Linked DNA regions of Homo sapiens: region 1 is linked to region 2. Evidence: promoter capture Hi-C in 16 types of primary human blood cells and fetal thymus (Javierre and others, 2016). All regions are on one chromosome and are shown on one strand. The core of a region is centred on a gene start or on the middle of the fragment in contact, and the rest is flanking DNA. Distances in the headings are between cores, read along the strand shown.

Region 1 (6,727 bases), core at 3,627-6,126, 83 kb before region 2:
AAGAGATGAAGCCCGTGGAAGGTACAAAGAGCTGAACAAAAGGTTGACTGGGCCACCAATCCCTTGTTTGTTCTTGGACTCTACACTTTCATCAATTCCCAAAATATTAATATATGTACAAACATAGTCATGAAAAAGAGCTTTCAGCACCAAGAATTGGTGTCCTGGGTGAGGAGGAGAGAAAACAACAAATGCTATAGTTATGGAGGATCGACTTCTTTTCGCTTAGAATCTTTGACCTATGTGAAAAAAATCGCTTAGGGAGTCACATAAGGGGAAGCCAGATAGAAGGATGTGAGCACCTATTATATACCAGAAACTGTGCTAAGTAATTTACATATGACATTTCATTATATATAAATAGAAACATTTTTTAGATTTGAAAGATACAGAAAATATGCTATCTGTTTGAAAATTAAGAACAGAGAAATTGTTTTCATTAAAATTTTTTTTCCATTAAAAAGTGAAAAAAAAAAAAGGCTGGGTATGGTAGCTCATGCCTGTAATCCCAGCACTTCAGGAGGCCGAGATAGGAGGATCCCTTGAGCCCAGGTGGTTGAGACCAGCCTGGGCAACATAGTGACACCTGTCTCTACAAAAAAATAAAATAAAAAATTTAGCCGGGTGTGGTGGTGCATTCCTGTAGTCCCAGTTACTCAGGAGGCTGAGGTGGGAGGACTGCTTGAGCACAGGATGTCGAGACTGTGGTGAGCTGTGATCATGCCACTGCACTCCAGCCTGGGCAACAGAGCAAGACCCTGTCTTCAAAAAAAAAAAGTGAAAAGTGAAAAGAATATATCTATTCAGTAGTATAGTCAAGATAGAGAGTCAGGGCAGAAAGAAGAGAGAGATGTATGAATGCACAAAGAGTGCAAGACCGAGACCAGAGACACATGGAATATACAAAAATGGAAATGAGGAAATATACAAAAAGGGAAGAGGAAGCCGACAAGCACAGAGAAAATGATATCAGAGCATACCTAAAACCTTTTAAGTAAACATAGATACAGAGGTAAAGACACCTACCCATATAAAGGGAGCCACATGAAAAAGGGCATCTGCAGATCTACAAAGACAAATGGAGAGACCCCTAGAAAGTCTCGAAGTCATGGACACATCAACAGGACTCTGAGATATGATCATAGAGAAATAATTCCATCTTGTGGCCACTTGGGGCATTTCCTCTAAACGTTTTTAAAAATGTGTTGCATTTTCACAACTATGGGCACACAGGAGTATTTTATTGTTGGTCACTTTGATACTCTCATTTTATAGATACACAAAGTTTCTGAGAAAAGTGACTTCTAAAGTCAAACAGCTGGTCATTAGATAAAATAAATGGAAAGACAAACTTATCCCTTAGTCTAAAGCAGGGATCAGCAAACTATGGCCTGTGGGCCAAATGGTCTGCTTCCATTTTCGTAAATATGGTTTTATTGGAATGCAGACATACTCATTCACTTATGTACTATCTATGGCTGCTTTTGCTAAATATTGAAGTTGATTAATTGCAATAGAGACCGTATGGCCAAAAGCTGAAAATATTTTCCATTTGGCGCTTTACTGAAAAAGATTGCCAATCCCTGGTCTCCAGGATTGTCAGCCTTATAGTATGAGTATATTACAAATTTTAAATGATAATTATCATAACAACAAAAAATTAGAATAAGGTTTAGTAAAAATTAATTTGGGCTTAGTACTTGGGAATACATAGTTTCCTGAAGCAAGTATTTCAGGGAGACTGAAGGTTAAATGTATGAAAGATTTTAGGTCTTAGGATGGCGACTGTAAGGCAAGATAACCTTTGGGGGAAAAAGAAACTGAGAAGAGCTGCTTAAGGGCCAGGTGCAGTGCCTCATGCCTGTACTTCCAGCACTTTGGGAAGCCAAGGTGGGTGGATCACCTGAGGTCAGGAGTTCAAGACCAGCCTGGCCAACATGGTGAAACCCCATCTCTACTAAAAAAAATACAAAAATTAGCTGAGCGTGGTGGTGCACACCCTGTAATCCCAGCTACTTGGGAGGCTGAGGCAGAAGAATCGCATGAACCGGGGAGGCAGATGTTGCAGTAAGCCAAGATCGCCCCATTGCTGTCAAGCCTGGGCAACAAGAGTGAAACTCCATCTCAAAAAAAAAAAAATGATAAAAGAGTTGCTTAAAATGACAACAGTGTTCTCTAAACAGGGATTTAATCTAAGGCTAAGAAATGAGCAAAAGCATTTGTGCTCTAAGTGAGGGGGTAAAAAGGTTGTGGTAGATGGTCTCTAAAAATGGTCACCATCATTTCCTTTCTTCTCTGTATGCATGTGTTACTCCACTCATGAAGACATGGAGTCTATTTCTCCTCCCCTTGAATTTGGGCTGGCTTTGTGATTTGCCTTGATTGCAGAAGACGGTGGAAGTGATGTTGGAGCAGTTCTGAGCCTAGCCTGCAAGGGGCCCAGTAGCTTCCACTTAGTCTCTGGAGGAAGCCAGTTACCATATACAAAATTTGGCTACCTTAAGACCACCATGCTCTGAAATCAAAGCTAGCCCTATGGAGAGGCCATGTGAAAGAGCACCAAGGCATCTGATATGTGAGCAAGAACTTCTCAAATCTTCCAGCCTAGCTCACTGACAGCTGAATGCAGCTAAGTGAGTGACACCAGCTGATGTCACATGGAGCAGAAGAACCATCCAGATGAGCCCTTTCCAAATTCCTGATTGGCAGAATAGTGAAAAATAATAAATTGTTTTTAAGCCCCTAAGTTTTCAGAAAAGAAAGTAGATAATGATGACCTATCATCTCAGATCTAAGGAGAGGAAAAATTTATCTCTGGCAAGTAGGAAAAAGGATTATTCATAAATCAGTGGAATTCTCTAGGATGGCTATTTGAATTCACAGTAGGCAGGTCTCCCCAAGGGAGGCCTGGACTAGTTGTGTTGGTACTTGGATCTGAGGATATGGGAAGGTCTGTGCAGAGCCCGAGGGTGGAAGGGTAATAAGAATACAGGGATCCCAGAAACTCCTGTTTTTCTACTCCTCTTTCTCTTTCTTCTTTCCTTTCTAACCATATCTAAATGTTTCCCATTTTGAATGCACACTCTTGAGAATAGATCATTTCTTTGGAAATGTGTGTAATGCTCTTTTTTTTGTTTGTTTTTACACATTTTATTCTTTGAAAGCCATTTAAGTTAAATAGGACCAGAAAACATATGGGAAGACATTCAAACAGGAGATTCACAGAATGTATCCTGGAATAGGATATATCCAGAGGCCATATATTAGTTTAAAGGAATAGAGACTTTGGTAATGGGAAGGTTCTGGGCGTGATGAGAAATCTGGGGCAGGGTTCCGCTAGGGAATAAATTGGGTAAGGTTGGAAAAATAACAATAACAAAATCAGATTTGATCCTGATTTAGGAGCTGGCCAGAGTGGAGAAGACTCCACAAATAGAGTGCTCTACTGAAGAAGGTAACTTTAAGAAAAAAGAGAAAAACCTTTTGTCCTAAGGGGCAGATGGTTTTTCAAGAAAGGGATGGTTGGCACCAAAAGGTCAGAATAATCTGCAGTGATGGTGTCTGTGTTCTGTAAAAACTCCACACAGACTGATTGATTTCGGCCTTGTTCTTAAAAAGATCTGTGCTCAGCATGTGCTCGATGCCCTCGGAATTTCTTATATTTTCATGAGCATAGAGGCACACAGAAGGCAGGGACTATCCTATGCAGCTCTATTCCCCATCACACCTAGCCCAGTGCCAGGAAAGACCAAGTGCTCAGTCATGTTTGCTGATGATGACGAAGACCATAACTCCATTTCTCAATGCATGTTTCTAGGAAAAGAAGAAGACAGGGAGTCAGGAATTCCCATAAACTGTCAAAGAAGGGATTCAGGTGACAGATGGAGGCTGTGTTAATCAGGATTCTTTGGTTGCAAGTGAACTAGTTGAGAAATGTATTGGCTTAAATGTCCAAACTGCAGGAACAGCAAAAGTGCAGCTAGGCTTCTGGATGACTGGAACCAGGATGTGGTCAGCACTTCCTTTTCCTTCTTTCTCATTCTTTTCTCTGCCTATGGACCTCATTCTCTCACATGATCCTCCTTCCCAAGACTTCAACTATGGCAGCATTCCCAGACTCACATCTCAGCTTCAGGACCAGAGGGGAGATTGTGTTCTCTCCTCAGTTTGCATGTAAAAAACCCCAGAAAAGAGCTCTGATTGGCTCAGGGTGGGTCACCTGTCCATCTCCAGAGGCAAGAGCTGGGAGCCTGTGGTTGGTAGCTTTCAACTAGTAGCAAGGCCAGTGAAAGTGGCATCTTGGGATCCACCTATATGCAGGAAGAGAAGTGCCAGGAAGGATAAGGATGTGGTTTTAGATGACAGTGACTCATTTGGGTCTGCATATTCTGGAGACAAACCTACCAGGGCCTCCTGATGGAAGACAACAAATGCTTCCCTGGGACCACCAAGTCACTGTGTCCTCTAGACACATCTCAAGGGCCCCCTATTCCCCTCCAGAAGCCCCAGAAAGAAGTAAACACAGAAATTGGAACAATGTTTGAGTCACTAGGTTCTCGAAACGGTCTGGTTCGAGGACACTAAGAGTTGGCAGCGATGAGATCAGCAAGTGGATCCCAGAGTCTGGCCAGAGCTCACCCACTTGCTGTGGATTCAGGCAAATCACTAACTGCTTGGTCACAAAACACTTTAAATATCTATTCAAACTTTCTTTCCTTCATGCTATAACTACCCAGAAGCTTCTAGCTAAAAAGCTGTTGGTCTTTATCTCTCTTTCAGTTGAGGAGGTAGGCCAATTTAGGGACAGAATAGTTGGGGCAAGGAGCCAATGAATGCTTCACTCTTCTTTAAGAGTAAAAAGATAAGTCAGGCATTGACTTCATTCCACCCTTCTGGGATCCTATTTCTAGGCAGGCACACCGCGAGGTACTGTGATGGACGCACATGGCATATGATGTAATTCTCTGCTCAGAGTCTCCAGCCTAGTATAGCAAATAAGGAGTGGTCCCAATCCCAAGCTTTCAGAGGGCAGAGGGCCAAAAATTGTTGGGGTAAAAGTTTTAATAAAGGTTTGTTTGATCTGGAACTTGAAGGATGTATAGGATTTTAGTAAGAGACATATGGGTCAGGCATTTATGAAAGAAATGGTGTGAGCAAGGAACAGAAAAATATGTTTAGGGAATACGGGGTAGACTAGCTGGACAACATAGAAGTGTGTGTTGGACAGAAGTGAAAAATAGTGAAAAGCAAATTGGAAAAGTACACGTTCCGTGAAAAGCCTGTATATGCAAAGCATTCCCCAAATGTTAAAGGAGCTGAGAAATAAAAGAATGAGGTAGACAGATACAGATTGTCGGTAAAGGATGTTTAATTGGGGGAACTTAAAGACAGAAGCATGGTCTTGGTGTACTGGGCAACTAAGATTGTGGAAGATGTGGCATGAAACTAAGGATTTATATTTTCTGGGTCAGGTATGGTGGCTCATGCCTGTAATCTAACACTTTGGGAAGCCAAGTTGGGAGGATCGCTTGAGACTAGGAGTTTGAAATCAGTCTGGGCAAAATAGTGAGACCTCATCTCTAAAAATAAATAAATAAAATAATAATTAAGAAATAGATGAAGATTGTGTTTGCTAGGAAATAGGGGGCTACTGAAGGATTCCGTGCAGGGTATACTGTTATGTCAAAACAATGTTTTGGAGATCATTGTCTGGTATGCATGAAGGATTGGCCAAGGAAGAGAATTGAAATGATAGTGCAGAATAATGGCAATTGGATTCCATGGCATTCCCTGAATTATTGCAAAAAAAAAAAAAAAACTCTTCTGAGCTAATGTGATTAGGTTTCTGTTCCTTATAATAAGTAAATTACCCTTAAGACAAAGTAGAGTCAAAAAAGCACAGAAATCAGGAAGGCAAGGGTTAAAATAAGAGGGGTAGCCAACAGTGTCAGATGCTTTCAAGGGTCAAAAAGGCCAAGGACTGGAAAAAGCAAGTGTATTTGGCAATTTGGAAGCCACTGATAACCTTCAAGAAAGCTGTTTCCTTAGAGAGGAGAGGAGAGGAGAGCTAGACTGAGGAGGGTGCATGGGAGTGGATGGGGCCACAGTGTGGATGGGTCATTTAGGACAAAAAGTGCTCTGAAAGTCCTAAGATATGTGCTGGGGGACACGTGGTTAAGCAAGGGTTTCACCAAGCTTTGGGACTGTGCATGTTTGTGAGCAAGAGGAAAAGACCTAGGAGAGGCAGTGGATGCTGCAGGCATCTAGGCAGGGTGTGCAGTAGGTCAGCAGAACAGAGTGTCATGTACCAGCTGATGGGTTGGGCCTGGAATTAAGAGGAAAGGAAGCCAGGATGGGCAAGAAGATAGAATGAGGTGGAAGAGAGCAACTAGACAGTAATATCCTGTATTAGTTCATTCTCATGCTGCTATAAAGAACTGCCCGAGACTGGGTAATTTACGAAGGAAAGAGGTTGAATTGACTCACAGTTCCGCATGGCTTGGGAGGCCTCAGGAAACTTACAATTATGGAGGAAGGGGAAGCAAACACTTCCTTCTTCACATGGCGTCAGGAGAGATAAGTGCAGAGCAAGGAGTGGGGGAAAGCCCCTTTTAAAACTATCAGATCTCGTGAGAACTCACTCGCTATCATAAAGACAGCATGGGGGTAACTACCGCCCCATGATTCAATTCCCTCCCACAGCACATGGAGATTATGGGAACTGCAA
Region 2 (7,299 bases), core at 4,109-6,608:
TTGCTGTGAGACGTGTTCTGTGCACTGTAGGATGTTCAGCAGCATCCCTGGCCTCTACCTAGTGGATACTAGTAGCACCCCATTCCCCAGTTGTAACAAGAAAAAGTGTCTACAGACATTGCCAAATATCTGGGAGGGGGAACAAAATAACCCCTCTAGTCACCATTCAAGGATTTCGATAAGGTAAAAATCATGAGTGGTTCAGGGGAAAAACGGTCTTCCTCTCCCTTCCTTTCCCCCAACCCTTTCACACCTTTCTGCACACTTTTCAAAGACAACCTCTCAGTCCTTTGCTGCTTCTTATTTCTTAAATGCCCTAAATGGTCTGGGGTGTGTTTGGTGTGATAATGAACCAATTGATTTCATACTTTCTCCTAAGGAAAGTTCACAGGTTTATGTCCCCTAAGCAACCAGCCAGGCTCTCCAGAAATCCCTAGCAGAGCCCAGGCTGGCCTGGAAGCCTGTATCTGCAGCCTGCAGGAGGCTCGGTGAGCACGAATTTGTCAGCACTCTTAAATCACTAGGCTCCAAGGAAGGCTTCTCCCAGCAGAAAGATCCTTCCTTAGGAATCAATAGCTCAGGGCCCTCCATCACATTCAGAATTATCCTGGGACCCATAAAATTTCTTTTCCCCAAGCATGGCAGAACCCCAAAGTGAAAACCCTGAGGTGGGGCAGGGAAAGAGGCAAGGAGGGAGCCCTGCCAAGAAGGCCTTGCCCATCAGCCCAGATATTGCTGTGAGCAGAGGCTGATGTGCAAACCTGGGCACTCAGGCTCACTCACTGGGAAAAAGAAGACTCGGGGGTTCCCAGTGATTCAGCAATAATATCCCCTTCCAACTGAATACCTCTTTACCTCTAACCAAGGGCAGAGGAATACTAAAGACTGTCTCCCTCCAGCTTCGCTCCCCTACCCTCATCACATGGTTGTCAGCCTCATCATTTAGCAGAGAAGGAAACTGAGGCTTGCAGAGGTTAAGTGGTTTGTTTAAGGTCTCTAAGCCAGCAAGCGGAGACCAGATTCTAAGCCTGTGTCCTTACCATTACAATGAGAGGGGGAAGGGTCAGCCATCTGGTGGGGCTCATAAAAGCCCCACTGGACAATTTCCTGTTTCTCATAGTCTAATGCCACTTCTCAAGCTCTCTACCCACTCCCGCATTCAAACAAAAGTCCAGAGAGCTTGTACTATAACCACAATGTATGTAAGTATATTCCTCTGGTCTTATCCAGAACCAGAACAAGTCTTGAGAATGCAGGCTCATTTCACCAGGTAAAGCTAGGAGCTGGTGAGATCTCAAGCATAGCCTCTTAAGACTCCAGTTTAAAGAGAGGGGCTTTTCCTCTCCGGTGGTCCACGTGATCCTGCACCTCCCTCCTCCCGCTGAAGATGAAGCTCCAACTTCATCTTCTGTGAGCATGAGGGAGAGGAGGGGACTCAAGCATCTTCCCTGGCAACAAGCATCCCTTTCGTGAGTCTTAGGGAGAGAAGAGGATTCCGCCTCTCAGAATTCTGGCTTGGCAGCAGTGGGTTTCTTACGAGGGTAGGCTTCCGAGTCTGCTGAGGCTCCAAGGAGAACCAGGAGGAAGTCCATCCAGTGTGCAAAGAAGCCAGGTGGGGAGATAATAACAAAAGGGGGCCGGGCGCGGTGGCTCACGCCTGTAATCCCAGCACTTTGGGAGGCCGAGGCGGGCAGATCACGAGGTCAGGAGATTGAGACCACAGTGAAACCCCGTCTCTACTAAAAATACAAAAAGTTAGCCGGGCGTAGTGGCGGGCCCCTGTAGTCCCAGCTACTCGGGAGGCTGAGGCAGGAGAATGGCGTGAACCCGGGAGGCGGAGCTTGCAGTGAGCCGAGATTGCGCCACTGCACTCCAGCCTGGGCGACAGAGCGAGACTCCGTCTCAAAAAAAAAAAAAAGAGAACAAAGGGGGCCGCCCACAGGCCACTCAGCAAACCTGTTTCCCAGAGCCCAGCTCAGATGTCGACAGCCAGGCTCTCGGAACAGAAGAAAGGGCAATGGAAATGGTAGTATCTTGCAGGTCACCGAAGAAGTCCAAACATAAGGATTTGGCAAAAATAGAATGTCCTAGCACTCTGACCTTGAGCTGGGAGCAGCAAGGGTGGGGGAAATAGGCAAATACTCTTTGGAAACTCTCCAATCCATCTATAATCTGAATCTGGGAGGTCTCACCAGCAGTGGTGTGACTGCAAGCAGAGAGACCCCACGCCAACATTCCTTGGCGCTCCAGACCTGGGTTCCAAGACCACAGTGAGGGACTCGGCACTTCTGACTCCTAAATGCACAGACTGAAACCTGGACTTGCATGGCTTTTGCTTAAAACACCACTTGGAATAATGAGACGAGATTGTAGAGGCAGGGAAAGAATAATTAGGAATTTCTATGACCTGTGTATGTCCATGACAAGAACTGTATTTTCTCCTCACCTCCTCACTCTGAAAAACAGATTCAAAATAGAATCTCCCCAACTGTATGGGATGTATTAATTTACCAAAGCCTGGTCAGTCAATAACTATGAGTGCCTACTGTATAGAGAAAGTATGTCCATCTTTATAGTGAAGAGGAAGCAGGCCGCTGGAGTGGAAACAGCTCTGAATCGAGCAGTGGGAATCCTAGGGCCTAGTTCCATGTCTTCCACCAAATAGCCATGTGACCTTGGCTTTATCCAGCTTCAGTTTTCTCATCTGTAAATTAAATGTGCATGTGAGTGTTGGGATGGAATGGGGTTGGATGAGATGCTCTCCAAGGCTCCTTGCTTCTGGCTCTAATGTTCTGGAACTCCATGAACCCTTAAAGAGTTCAAAGAACACAGCGGCACCAAGCACAAAGGAATGATCCCCGAGAGAGGGTGGGGCTGTGTACCAGCTCTGTCTCCTTGGAATGTTGTGCTTGCACCTGCCCCATAGCACCCGAGGTCACAGGACCACCTGAAGCCCAGGAAGCATGTGGTAGAAGGATTCCAAGTACGATGGTGGTGGTTGAAGGCTGTAGCCTGAGCTGCCTTAAAGCATTAAGTTGCTACAGCCAGTAAAGGGCAAGAAGTGAGAAAGTCAGTGGTCCTGAGCCAGGTACCTTTGGCGCCCCCTACTGGACACCAAGGAGTCTGCTCCACCTTTAGGCTTCCACCGCCTCAGCACGGAAGCAAGGGAGCGCTTGAGCATGAGAGGCTGTCACAAGCTGTTTAGTAGGACTGCCTTCCCGGTTGGTGGTATTCTTTCTATAGAAGTCTATTGCACTCCCTAGAATTACACAGGCCATTGGTCCACAGATTTACAGGGGCACCCCTGCGCAGCCATAGGACGTCTTAACCAAACATCAAGGTACCAAGGAATAAACACCAGGGTTCAGAACACCAGGTGCAGCCCAGATGGAGAAGGGAAGAAAGAGCAACAAGCAGGTATTTCGCTGCACAAATCCCCAGTGGAGAGAAGGTCTTGGGAAATGCAGCAGAAAAATGTTGACTGCAGCAGACAACGATGGAGCTGGGGGTTGGGATATAGATTGATAGCACCCATAAAATATCTCCAGGCTGAAGCAGGTACCCTAGGAGTTTGAACATCCACCTACATTCAGGGATGGGATAAGGTGGAGGATTCAGGCTCAAATGAGCAGCCACAGAGCAGGTTCCCCAGACTCCCTACACACCGTTTCGACCTTTTCCAGAGTCCATTAGTACCCACCGGAAATGGAAATGTTCTAATTGTGGTCCTCTGTGCCATCATCAAGACCCTCAACTCCCTTCATTACCTCTTAAATTGACTTTAGGACCTACTGCCAGAAGGATGTTCTTAACCAAGTCAGAGAGAGAGAGAGAACATTTTCTCAAGAACCATGCTGGAACAGCCACCATGTTCCCACTTTTCCAGCCTCCACCTCTCCCCCATGGCTGAGGGTGAGGTACTCTGTGACTCTCAATGAGCTCTAATTCAGTCTTGGACATCTCCAGCCCCAAGTCGTCTGGGTTCCAAATCTCCGTCAATCGCTTATCTCTTCCCACATGAGTTCTCCCCTGACTCAAGAAAACACTATAGAACTGTCCCCTGTCCTGGGACCCTCTTCCCTTCTTTTCCACTTGGCTTCACGTGGAAAGTCCTGCACCCATCCCAGAAGACACCTCAAGTGCAACTCAAGAATGTGTCCTGTCAGGAGAACGGAAGCATCTCCTGGGATGTGCAGAAGCCACACTGGGTGCACCCACCAGCAGCAGCAGCGGCGGCGGCGGCGGCGGCGGCGGCGGCGGCGGCGGCAGCAGCAGCAATATTCATTAGTCATTCCTGGAGGAAGCCCCCCCAGCTCTCAACCCTAGGAGAATTTCCCCGCCACTCTGGGAGGCTTCCATCCAGGCTGGGATGACTTTGGATTCTTGAGTTGCTTTCTGCAGAAGCGGGACTAACCAGGGCTCCCAACTACTGTACTGCAAAGAAGCGCGCTGCATTGCTGGGCATGCCCCCAAGCCCGGCCTGGCTGCCCCATCAAAGCCTCCAAGTGCCCCCACGGGGTCGAGGAGGACTCAGGGTTCCCCTGGAATGCCTGAAGCCGGCTTGCCTCAGGCAGCCTGAAGGGAAGACCACACCTCGTCCAGCATAAGGCGGCTAGCAGCTACGCCGCGCGCGGGGCTGGCTCCCGGAGCTCTCTGCCACCCAGCGCTGTGCCCGGGAACTCGGCTTCCCAGGGGAGGAAGAGCCAGCCCGCGGGGCTCTTCCCCAGCCTGGAAGCGTAGGCACTCGGCCGAGGCCAGTGGCTTCCCAGGCCCGGGTCTCAGCCTGGCTGACTGGGAGACTCTCCCGATAGCCCGGCACATCCCTCCTCACCCGCTCCGCCCCCTCCAGGCCCCAGAGGCCCCCTCCCCTGACAGCTGACCTCCAGTGCGCCCCCAACACTTTCTCTGCCAGCTGCTGGCTGTCGCCCCCACACATCAGCTCCCACCTCTCCGCCACCTCCAACCCGGCCGCCGCCTCACCCCCAGCCCGCGGGGGAGGCTCCGCGCGCCAATCGAGTCCAGCGCCTCCCAGCAAGTTAGGAGCGAAGCCGCCGCCTTCGCGATCCCAGTCTTCCCGGGTTCCCGGGCGGCGTCCCCGCCACCCTTGCGGGCGGATCCGGGGGGGCGCGCAGAGCTGGAGAAACTTTCTCCGCCTTAGGGTGGGGGGCACCGGTGCAGATACTCACGCCGGGGTCAGCGCTCGGAGCCATCCTCCCGCTCTCGGCCCCGCCGCCTAGGGGCGTGGGAAGCGGGCGCTCGCTGCCGCCTCTGCCGCCGGCGCCGCCGCCTGCTTGCTCCCAGCCCCGGTCCCGGGCTGGCCTCGAGCCTCCCGCCCCGACGCCGCGCGCTCGCTTTATACAACTCCACTCGAGCGCGCCCGGTCTTATGTAAAGGCTGGCGGAGGCCCGCAGCCAATGGCGCGGCAGCTGGAGCCGGGGGCCCGGGGTGGGGGGCGCCGGCGCGGCCAATCGCGGCCCCGAGAGCCCGGAGAGCCGGGCGTGGGGAGGGAGCGCCTCCCCGCGCTGATTTAGGAGCCGGGATTGCGGTGGCAGCAGCCGGCAGCCAGGCTGGCCCGGCGCGGCGCGGCGGCCACTGGGGTGGGCGGCGGCGAAGGCGGCGGCGAGGGCGGGCGCCCCCCGCGCCCCGCCACTGCGTCGCGTAACCTTCAGGCGGCAGCGAGGCCTGGCGAGGAGGGGAGAGGGCGCCTGGCTGGGCGCTGGGGGCCCCAGGCCGGAGGGAAGCGAGGGTCCCTCGGGAGGCAGCGCAGGGAAGGAACGCGAAGGGGGAGGGGAGGGCGGCGAGCCCCAGGACCCCGCGGCCACCCCTGCGCGCAGGACCGAGGGTGGAGGCGGGAGCGGCTGCACTGCCTTCCCATTTCCCCCCAGGATAGCGATCTGGCGTCGCCGGGCCGGGCCAAAGCGGCCGAGCGAGCCGCGCTGATGGCGAGATTTCGACTACGGAGCTAGAGCCGAGCCGATCTTTATCCAGCCTGGGGACGTGTCCGAGCACCTCCCGGGGACTGCTCAGTATGGAGAGCAGGGCTCCGCGACGGCCCCCGCAGGCGGGGAGCGGGCGAGCGCAGCTCGGAGATCAGGCGCGCAGAGGCCCAGGCGGCTGCGGGCAGCGCCGCTTCTACCCCACCCCGTCCCCACCAGCAGTGCCCCCACCCCATCCCACCTAGTCCCTACCCCAGCAGTGGCCGAGTCGGGCCTGGCCCACCCGCTCCTGCCGCCTGCGTCCTACTAGCCTCCCTCACCGCTTTGATCACAGGTACTGCCCGCCTCTCCTCGCCCCCAACCCGCTGCCTTGGTGGTGGTGGGGGGATGGTTTCTGCCTCTCTGGACCAGGGGAATGGGGGTGCTAAGCGCCAGAAAAACACACTTGATCAGCAATGCTCAAAATACCCCTGTTCAGGCAGGAAACTGGCCTTGGTGGGTCACACTCTGAAGGCAAATCCTTTATTTTACGCCTAGAATAGAGCCTGGCACATAGTAGGCGCTCAGTGTTTATTGAATGAATTCTGAGCTTCCATGAGTGAGGTCTTTGGGTTTCTGAAAGCCAGGTAAAGGGGCCACAGAAGAGAAAGACTTGGGAATCCACCATCGGAGAGGGAAGGAGCTAGGACTGTTTTCCCATCCGTTGACGCTTTTGTGACCATCACCCACTAGTCTGGCTTCTGGGCCCTTGACTCTTAGAATGATTTGAATGTGTTCTTTTATAGAGGGCCACACATCCAGCCTCTGGCCCCTGTTATCCACAGATTTTGAGCAGAACTACCAGGACCTAGTCTGGGCTCTGTTTTCAGGTCTCTGTGATCTTCCTCTGAAAAGAAATAGCTAGGCACAGACAAACTTTCTGGCTTTTTGAGCCCCCATCAAGCCTGTAAGGTTGTGGGCCCCTTTGAAAATCTGGCAAAAATTACTGAATCATTTTTCTAGAAAAATATACAAACACACACATTTACACACACACACACACACACACACACACACACACACACACACACCTTGAGTATACTTTCAGGATCATTAGGAACCCTGAGTCTCTTGGGGCTCGGTCCAATGTCAACCTGTTTCTTCAGGGGTCTAGGACAGTAGTTTATAATCACCCTCCTTTTGGGGATCACAGACCCTTTAGAACCTTTCAAGAATCTCATAAATGTTATGGATCTGTTGCTTATAAAAATGCTCACTCACATACACACATGTTGACATGCAACTTTAGGAGGGTTCGTGGATCATTAAAACTTAATCTAGGGCCCTGATTAAGAACCTTCATCTATCGGCAAATAGACTCTGC

The links. The method cuts DNA at HindIII sites, captures the fragments that hold promoters and counts their contacts. A CHiCAGO score of 5 or more calls a contact.
Region 1: a contact is called between a fragment that was not itself captured here and the fragment with the promoter of CRTAC1 in region 2, in 1 of 17 cell types (M1 macrophages). The highest score is 5.3, in M1 macrophages.

What each region holds. Positions count from the first base shown.
Region 1 is chr10:97,942,307-97,949,033 of GRCh38, forward strand. All of the region lies in intron 2 of CRTAC1 (cartilage acidic protein 1), which reads right to left. Among named protein-coding and RNA genes, the nearest start is that of MIR3085, 70 kb to the left of the region's middle. The HindIII fragment of the contact is 279 bases long and covers 4,738-5,016 here.
Region 2 is chr10:98,025,263-98,032,561 of GRCh38, forward strand. It overlaps CRTAC1 (cartilage acidic protein 1), which reads right to left and starts at 5,359. Exons shown (of 15, transcript NM_018058.7): 1 at 5,187-5,359. The coding sequence starts at 5,210. The HindIII fragment of the contact is 20,576 bases long and covers 1-7,299 here.